2 separate regions of the Homo sapiens genome follow, and region 2 is linked to region 1. The links are contacts of gene promoters, found by promoter capture Hi-C in blood cells and fetal thymus (Javierre and others, 2016). All regions are on one chromosome and are shown on one strand. Each heading gives the region's core, a stretch centred on a gene start or on the middle of the fragment in contact. The rest is flanking DNA. Distances are from core to core; before and after follow the strand shown. Region 1 holds the start of LHFPL3-AS1 (LHFPL3 antisense RNA 1). Region 2 has its middle 47 kb from the start of ORC5.

What was found. The method cuts DNA at HindIII sites, captures the fragments that hold promoters and counts their contacts. A CHiCAGO score of 5 or more calls a contact.
Region 2: a fragment that was not itself captured here is called in contact with the fragment with the promoter of LHFPL3-AS1 in region 1 in 2 of 17 cell types (M1 macrophages and naive CD8 T cells); the score reaches 5.3 in M1 macrophages.

What each region holds. Positions count from the first base shown.
Region 1 is chr7:104,802,718-104,807,176 of GRCh38, reverse strand. It overlaps LHFPL3-AS1 (LHFPL3 antisense RNA 1), which reads left to right and starts at 3,085. Exons shown (of 4, transcript NR_034141.1): 1 at 3,085-3,221; 2 at 4,214-4,338. The region is part of intron 2 of LHFPL3 (LHFPL tetraspan subfamily member 3); the gene reads right to left. The HindIII fragment of the contact is 2,660 bases long and covers 1,525-4,184 here.
Region 2 is chr7:104,252,640-104,257,225 of GRCh38, reverse strand. No RefSeq gene overlaps it. Among named protein-coding and RNA genes, the nearest start is that of ORC5, 47 kb to the right of the region's middle. The HindIII fragment of the contact is 2,029 bases long and covers 2,116-4,144 here.

The DNA.
Region 1 (4,459 bases), core at 1,836-4,335:
GGACACCAGTCATATTAGACTGAGGCCCACCCTCATGACCTACTTTAATTTTGATTACCTCCATGAGGACTTTGTTTCCAAATAAAATTACATTCTGAGGTACAGGGGGTTAGGACTCTAATACACACACACACACACACACACACACACACACACACACACACATATATATTTTGGTGGGGCACAATTCAACCCCCAACAGGGTCATAGGAATAAATGAAATTATTAGGAAGAACACATAGATGGAAGAGAGGACTGAGAAAAAGAGGATTTCCAAGAGTATTGTTTAATGCCCGAAAGGTATTATGAGTAAAATGAAGCCATGGCTCCAGCAGCAAGGAGAGTGAGGGAAAGTGCCTGATCTCAGGTGTGGTCCACAGCAAGACTTTGTTGGGTTCCCTTTGATCATTTCATGACCCAGCCTCACAGGGGCTTGGAAATATTTTGTTCACAACTGAATGAAGGCAAAGGATTTCCTTGCACTAAAAAATAATTAATCTTCATTCTAGAATTGTCAACAGAATTTAATCAATTCAGGATTTTTTTTTTCATGTTGAAAACACTCAAAGAACATAATGGACATTCATCCTAAAAAGATCCTAAGAGTTCTTCATTTTAGTCAACCCTCAAGAGAAAATGTTTACAGTCACAAAGACAGCATGTGTCATTACTGGAAAGAGAACTTCAACTCTGTTTCCCAGAATCTAAAACTCCTATTTGTAATGAAGACAACTTTGGGGTTCAATGCAATCCCTTTATTGGTTTAGAAATCTGCAGAGATCAAGAACAGTTTAAGGGTTTCTAGAATAAACTCTGGTAGAAAAATTTCCCCTAACAGATTGAGTTTTATCTTGAATTAATAATTCAAAAGACATAATACATCTCTAAATAATCTATGAATAACTTAGTCCTGAACTAATTGAAACCTAAGTATGAATGAAAGCATTATGCTTTGTGGCATATACTTTCCCAAATGACCTAAATGTCAGTTAGATAAAGATGAGTGAGCTTCCCTCCAATCTTGTTCTCTGTCTGAAAACTTGTATGAGCCACAGCCATGTGACAGACAGAACTGTTTCTTTACCAAAGACTGTCGTAGTTCCTGCATTGTCAGTCGTACGCACTAAAACACGGCCTGCAGCAGGCTTTAATTACCATAAATGCACCACCTGTCTTCTTTTTAGTGCTTAATCATGAAACGTATCATGGTTTACAGTGCAATGTGTTTGAAATACTATACTGAGCTGTGGAATCACAGAATCCACAGAGGAAGAGAGCCCAGGGTTCAGACAAAGCGATGTGGCTAGGGTTAACCTAGTAAATCCTATTCCCTGAGGGCTGTTCTAGAGGGATCCAGACTAAAAACTGTAGATGGTATGAGAAGAGAGGGGTTTGGGATAAGCCTAAAAAGCCCCATAAGAAAGCATAAATCTGACTGTCATGTAGGATTATGGCTCTCCTAAGAGCTGGGAGACTGTGGAGGCTGACTGAAGGAAAGGCTTTGTGCTTTGGTGGCTGGAAGCTTTTGTACAGCTCTGTGAAGCCTCCTTTAGTGCAACTGCAGTCTGGGCTCTATGGGGCTGCAGCTGTGCCACCCTGGAAGGGGTGAACGAAGCAGGGGAATAGGAAGGAACTGAAGACAGAAAGAAGGCTGATGTGGGACCATGTAGTCAACTCTGGCCATTCACGGCAACTTCCAGATAGGAGAGGACCTCAAATTGTAACAGGTGACAACATCACTACATTGCTACAGATAGTTGTCATTGGCCATTAACAAGGACTACACATTCATTTGAGTCGCATCTCTTTCAGGAAGCAATTATTTTGGGGTCCAAAATGCTTGTATACCCTTTAGTTCTGCACCTTCATATTATGTTAACTAGTACTCCCCTAAGTAGTTGAACTTAAGGGATGCTAAGAAGGGCCCCAGATATCGTCAATGAAACAATGTCCTTTCTTTTGGGTTAAGTCCTGAGGAATCTGTGATACTTAGCCCAGTCAGATGGTTTCTCTGAAAGGTAAATGGAAGTCAGCACACGGAGAAGTGAGGGGATACAAGAGGAGAAGGAAGCACTAGGCCTTTCCCAGGGCATCTGAGCCTATGGGGGCCCCTGAGGGGAGCCCTCTGGCTGCTCCAGATTGGCACTGGGTGCTGGCTGGTGGGAGTGAAGTAGATCTGGGAGAGATTCTAAAAGGGGTGTGGGAGCAGAAAAGGAAGTGCGCTAGTCATCTATTATTGTATAACAGTATTACCACAAACCTCGTGGCTTAGAACAGCCCACATTTGTTATCTCAGTTTCTAGGTCAGGAGTTGGACATGGCTGGATCCATTGTCTCAATATCTCTCACAAGAATGCAATCAAGATATTGGTCAGGGCTGATTTCTCATCTGAAAGCCTGACTAGGAAATGATCCATTTTCATGTAGTAGTTAGCTAAATTCAGTACTTTGAGAGCTACTGCATTGAGGACCTCAGTTTTTAGCTGGCAGCCATCCTCAGTTTCTTGCCATGTGGGCCTCTCCCAACATGGCAGCTTGCTTCATCAAAGCATGCAAGCTGAGAAGGCAATAGAGAGAGTTTGGTAGGAAGAAGGAAATCACAATCTTATGTAACTTAATCGTGGAAGTGACATCTCATCCCTTTTGACATATTCTATTGGTTAAAAGCATGTTACAAAGTCTTGCCCACCCTCAAGGGTGAAGAGCATTACAAAAGGGCAGAACACCAGGAGGTGGAGATCACTGGGGGTCATCTAGAGTTTGCCCATCACGTGGAAGAAAGTGATGGCAGACATCCATTGTTTTTTCTGGTTGCTATCCATTCCTCCTTCTGGTAATTATACCTAGATTTTCCTTTGACGAATAGCCCCCTCCACCATTTCAACAATGTTTCTGGCAGTCTCAGCCCCAGATGTCGAAAAGTGACTTAAGCTGGCGAATCAGCATATCACATGTCTGGGTTCACAGTGGTGAGTTTACAGATGCACATGTGACCCAACAAGAGCCAATGAAGAGCAAGGAAACTTTCTTGGGAATCCTGGAAAGATATGCTCTATTTTTCAGGTTGACTTAAAACTAGAGAGGATCTAGGAACTGGAGCTGCTGCCTCTGTCTGCTAAGATGTGAAGTCCAAGACTGAAAGTAACATAGCAGAAGGAGAACCAAAAGATATGTTGAGTCTTGATGCTATTTGTTGAACCAGTCCTGAATCCAGCTGTGTCGTAAGTGAATTATTCCTAACATGATGACAGAAGCCTGACATTAATTTATCAAGGCATGCTGAAGAATATTTGATTATTGGATATAGTGCAATACCAAAACTATGTAAATAATAGGCACATCTGGTTCGTGTAATTTAAGAGGGGTAAAGGTAGGGAATATTCCCTAGACAAGTTCATTCATCAGCAAATATATATTTTGCCCTTATTACATGTTAGGTCCAAGGGCTATTACATATAGTTGGGCAGTTTGTGCACTGCACAAATGTACCTACTCAGGAGGGTAAGGGAACTGAAACCAAGTCTTCCTTATATTTGCCAAACATTTGCCCTGGTGTGGGAGTGGTTTCATCCCAGGAGAGAGTGATGTTTATAACTTGCTAACTGGCCAGTTGTTCCTCTGCTAAGCTGAGTAGGATGGAAGGAGTGAGCATGGTAGAAAGATGTGGCTACAAAGAGGAACACACATGTGGTTCTTGCCCTTTAGGAGTTTAATTCAAGTATGGGGTTAGTTATGCAAACTGAAGATCATGATAAAATGTCGTAAAGGCTAATAACGATTTTGGAACATATGGTTATGGCCTTGGAACTATAAATTGAGGAGCATGGTCCACAGACTTTTATCTTTCTAATGCGTGAATAGAATAGAATATTTGAAACTGGTACTTGTGGCTTTCTGGTTGCCATAGGCATGTATATAGTGTAAAGGGAACAAAAGGGTTCTTGACAAATTTGACTTGGGGAGTGAAAGGAATTAGAGAGGATGTCAAAGAAGTGGTATGTTGGATCTGGATCTTGAAGGTAAATAGCAAGTGCAAAGATTAGTGAAGTGAAAGCACTTGGTCCATTATAGGAATGGTAAATAACTGCTATGGCTTGAACTTGGAATGTGTGAGAGAGGGCAGAGGATATGTAAGATTGAGGTTAGAGCAGGAGTAGATTAGGAAGAGGCTTCTGGGACAAGCTTTGGAGTTTCAATATCCCTTTATTCACAGGGAGTCAGCGCAGCTTTTGAAGCTGGAGAGCATCATATTTTAGAAAGATCAAGCAATGTGGATGAGGACACATTAAAAAGAGAAGACCGAGAGGAGGGGACACCACTCAGGCTTATAACCTCCAGGTAAGAGATGACCAGTGTGAATCTTGGCATTGGCATTGGGGTTGGAAAGGATGGAACTTAGATGTGAGACAGCTCACAGATACAGTCTACAGGCTGGTCTACTGTTAGATGGGTGTTGTCT
Region 2 (4,586 bases), core at 1,881-4,380, 550 kb after region 1:
TCTAGAGTCCTTTATCCACCGAAACCCAGGCTTAGAAAAACTGACCGCAGCAGCAGCCTCCCAAAGAGGACCAGCACACCTACAGGGAGAAAAGTGGGGAGGCCACTTCAGGAGGAGAAACGGAATGGCACTTCTTTTGCTTTGCCTACACTTTAATTTGACTGCTAGAAACACATGTGGGAGATCTAGTAGTCCTTTTTGAAAACATAAACAATTTTGGGAGAGTAAAGGGATGGTGATCCATTAACTCGTTAGTGTAAGTGAATTCAATCAGATTGCTTTTCTTTTAACACCTAGGCAAGATCAGATACATTGGAGGAAGAAGAGTTTTAATTATTCTGAAACCTCCACTAAGGGAAATGAGATGAACCTGGAAAGTTATTCAATTGGTGCAAAAGTAACTGTGGTTTTTGCCATTAATTTTAATGGCAAAAATATTTTTAATATTTAGGTCTCTGAGCTATGGGAGAGGAAAGGGGTTCTAGAAGTGAAATAAAAGTGCAGAAAAGAAGAGGTTTCAAATGTAAAGTTTACCAATTTATAGGAAAGGGAAATTAATTATTATTATTATTTTTTGAGGCGGAGTTTCACTCTTGTTGCCCAGGCTGGAGTGCAGTGGCACAATCTCCGCTCACTGCAACCTCTGCCTCCCGGGTTCAAGTGATTTTCCTGCCTCAGCCTCCCAAGTAGCTGAGATTACAGGCATGCACCACTATGCCTGGCTAATTTTGTATATTTAGTAGAGACAGGGTTTCACCATGTTGGCCATGCTGGTCTTGAACTCCTGACCTCAAGTGATCCACTCGTCTCGGCCTCCCAAAGTGCTGGGATTACAGGTGTGAGCCACTGCGCCTGACTGGAAATTAAATTTTTAAAAAAGTATCTACGAGGTTCCAGGAATAGTAAAAGTCAATTCGTGTACCTTGTCACATTTAATTATCCCAACAGTCCCTGTGTCGCTTTTCTCTCATTTAACAGATTAAATAAGCAAAGATCAGAAACTGCCACAGAGAGTGACTTGTCCAAGTCAGCTGATTAATGACAGCCAGGAATCATTGAACCCAGATTCCTTTTCTTCCAAACAAAGCCCTTTCCCCACAATAATTTCTTTGGAGTAGAATCTAGCCATTCCTTCTGAGAATGTTTATGTAAGGAAATGTAGGTCAAAGTCTTGCCATACAAACACAATTCTGAAACACTACCTGTTTTTTAAACGGAGACTGCTTATATTCATCTTAATCATAATACTATTATTTGTTCTGGAGTGGGAGGGGTTCTTCGCAATATACAGAATTGGCCTAATGGGCTCCTTTTATCAATGCTTGCTTTTTAGATCATCTCCCTGCAAATCCGTTGGCATCATCCACACAAACATACGCCGGGGTGTTATTTAATTAACCATGGAGCTATGAACATTGTGAAATTCAAGTGTACATATGTTTTCAAACAACATATTTTAAATAAAATTATTTGCAACCAGAAAAGGAAGCTCATTTATTCATAATTCATTTGACTAATGTCTGTTGAGCATCTCTGTGCCAAGCACTGTAGTAGGATGGAGGCTGCAACAGTGAACTAGATAGTCCCTTTCCTCAAAGAGACTATGTCTCCTTAAAAATCTCAACATACTTTGAAGGTTTTTTTAAAAATTACATTAAAATGACCTTGTGGAGTAAAACAAAGAAAAAAATCAATGTATTGAGAAGAAACGGCATAGAAATAGCCTTTTCACCACATAAAATATAAATAATCTCTAGGTTTTGCTGCTCATCTGGTGCACTTAAAAATGTTTCTTGGATGAATGCCTGTCATTCAATCAGGAATCCAATGCTCTCACTGTATGGAGTGCATTACAAGTTGCACTGGGGGAAATATGGACACGTTCTCAAGCAGGCTGCAGTCTAATGGAGGAGACCAGGCAGGCCGAAATAAACAAGAAAGCTCTAGGTCAGGGTTTGGCAAACATTTTCTGTAAAGGGCTAGATACCGAATTTTAATTTTAGGCTTTCTGGCCCATATGGTCTCTGTTGTAATTACTCACTACTGTCATTGTAGCATGAAAGTAACCATAAACAATATGTAAATGTATGAGCACAATTGTGTTCAAATAAAGCTTCGTTGACAAAAACAGGCAACAGCCTTGATTAGACGAACAAGCTGTAGCTTCCAGACCCTGGTTCAGGTGAAGTCATCCCTTCCTTTCTTACCACAGAATGTGTGTCCTTTCCAAAGTGATGAGGCCATCTTTCAGATAAATAAGCCATGCTTGGGTCAATTACCCTTTGAGTCACTCCATTCCTATGCTGAACTTCCATAAAATCACAATAAGCCCACCTTTCAACATTAAAATAATAAATTACAATTACAAATGGTGAGAAAAGTGGGGAGGCCATTGCAAGTGGGAAGTGGAATTGGCCCAGATTCAGAGAGGGAGAGCCTGAGGGTACAAAGGACAGCCTAATGGAAGAAAGCACATGCACAGGCAAGAATGTAGCAGGAGCTTTCCATGGGAGGATGGGGTGAATCCTTGGAGCTGGAATTTTAATTCAATTTGAAAAACAAGCAAGGGCCTGTAAGGGAGGGACAGACTCAATGTAATGAGAATTAAGGCAGAAAGAAGTTAGAGTCTGGAAGCTAAGAGGGATCTAGATCAATGATCTAGGCATAGAGTGCTGACGGTCTGTATTCCCATCAAGGCCTTGGTGAGGGAGTTGCAGGTGTAAAGTTCCAGGAAAGCGAAAGATTGAAAGCCGATAAACCCTGAAACACCTGGTACAACAGCAGTACAGACCAGATTGGGTGGCATAATCCCAACTCAAGCACTTTGCATACAAAGCAGAGGTCAGCTGAACACCATAATCTCAAGGCAGGTATCTCTCATGTCAGCACCAGAGGCAGCCAATGTCATAAGCCTATATCAGGCATCCCACACATGCTGTAGACCACCTCCAGCTAGTCTAGTACTTGTTTATCCAACAATTTCAGACATTGCTTGTCAATCAGCAACACTCAGAGGCTTTGCTTTCCTAGTATGGGACAGACACAGTTCACAGTTTGTCTTTAAAAGACCTATTCCATTTCTCTTCCCTGAACCTCATTCCCTCAAGTCTAGACTGTCCTGGATGTTTCCCTGTGTCCATTTGGTGCTCAGCCTTCGGTGTTTTAGTATTTTTATTTTCTCTTTAATGGCATGAAGCCTAATTTCTACTTGGCCACTTATTTTCATACTTTTTAGATTCTTTTTTTTTTCTTGCATTTCCATGTCCTACTCCTTAACATCCACCCTCCTACAATGTTTGATAAACATTAACTGAATTGAATTTCCCTTTCTGTGTATTCTACTGTGTCACTTCTGGACAAATTGATAGGGTATTTCAAGGCTCTACTTTTTGTTTTTGTCTTTTTAAAGAGGTGTTGCTCTGTTGCCCAGGCTGGAGTGCCTGGACCTGCTAGGTTCAAGTGATCCTCCTGCCTCAGCCTCCCAAATAACTGGGACTACAGGCACACACCAACACGCCCACCTATTTTTTTTCACTTTTTCCAAGATGGGGTCTTGCTACATTGCCCACACTGATCTTGAACTCCTGGCCTCAAGCAATCCTCCTACTTCAGCCTCCTGAGTAACTAGGATAAAAAACACAAACCACCACATCTGGCTTCCAAGGCTCTACTTTTTAATCACAGTAATGCAAGGGTAAATGTAGTTGTTTGAGATTGGCTGAGAGAAGGTGCCAAGCCAGATGGATCTCCGCTCAGAGAAGATCCTATGACTAAAGGACCCCATGAGCTGAAACCAAGAGCTTAAGAACCCTAAGGAGGATACTGATCTCAACCTTGAACATGAGATAAGCAGTGGGGTGAAGAGGATCCTCACCCGGGAATAATGATGTCATTAGGCATTAGGGAAGTGTCACAACTTGGGCTCCCTGGGGAGCAGAATCTGAGTTTAGCATGCAGGATCCTTATTAAAATGAATCCTTAAGATTAATACTTGTGGAAAGGAGAGAAAGAACACCAGATTGGAAAGGGGGAGAAGTGAAGCTGGGGCGCAAGCCTGACGTCACCCTTGGCTGACCATGAGGGGAATGCTGGAGCTAGAATAGACCTTCAAATTTACCCTGAGGTGGGCCATGATGCCCAAGCTTTTATACTCCCATGTCAATCAATTACTACATGTAAACTGTCCTGAGAAGGGGCATGACTTTAAGCAAAGTCACTCTGAAAAGCCGAGGCAATCCCTGAAGGGGCTGAGAGCTGAAGGTTGTTTGCAAACAGCACTCCTGGCAACCAGGACAACAAATCCTTCATTGAAGAGGAATCTGGGCAGTGCCTCACAGAGTTTACTCTAGTGAACAGTTTGTGCTGCTTGATCCACTTCGTATGTATCTTGATCCACTTCGTAGCAGGTCTTCTAAGATTCTAGTGGATTACTTTCCATGGGGCAACTTAGCAGAGAAGGTCAAGGGAGTGAATTGTGCCCCTGCTACTCCAGCCAGTCTCAAGGCTGCAACTGATACTCACCATCACCCTCCCCCACTATCCATTCTAGATTCCCCTCATCCTTGGCCAGCACCTCTGCTGGTCTG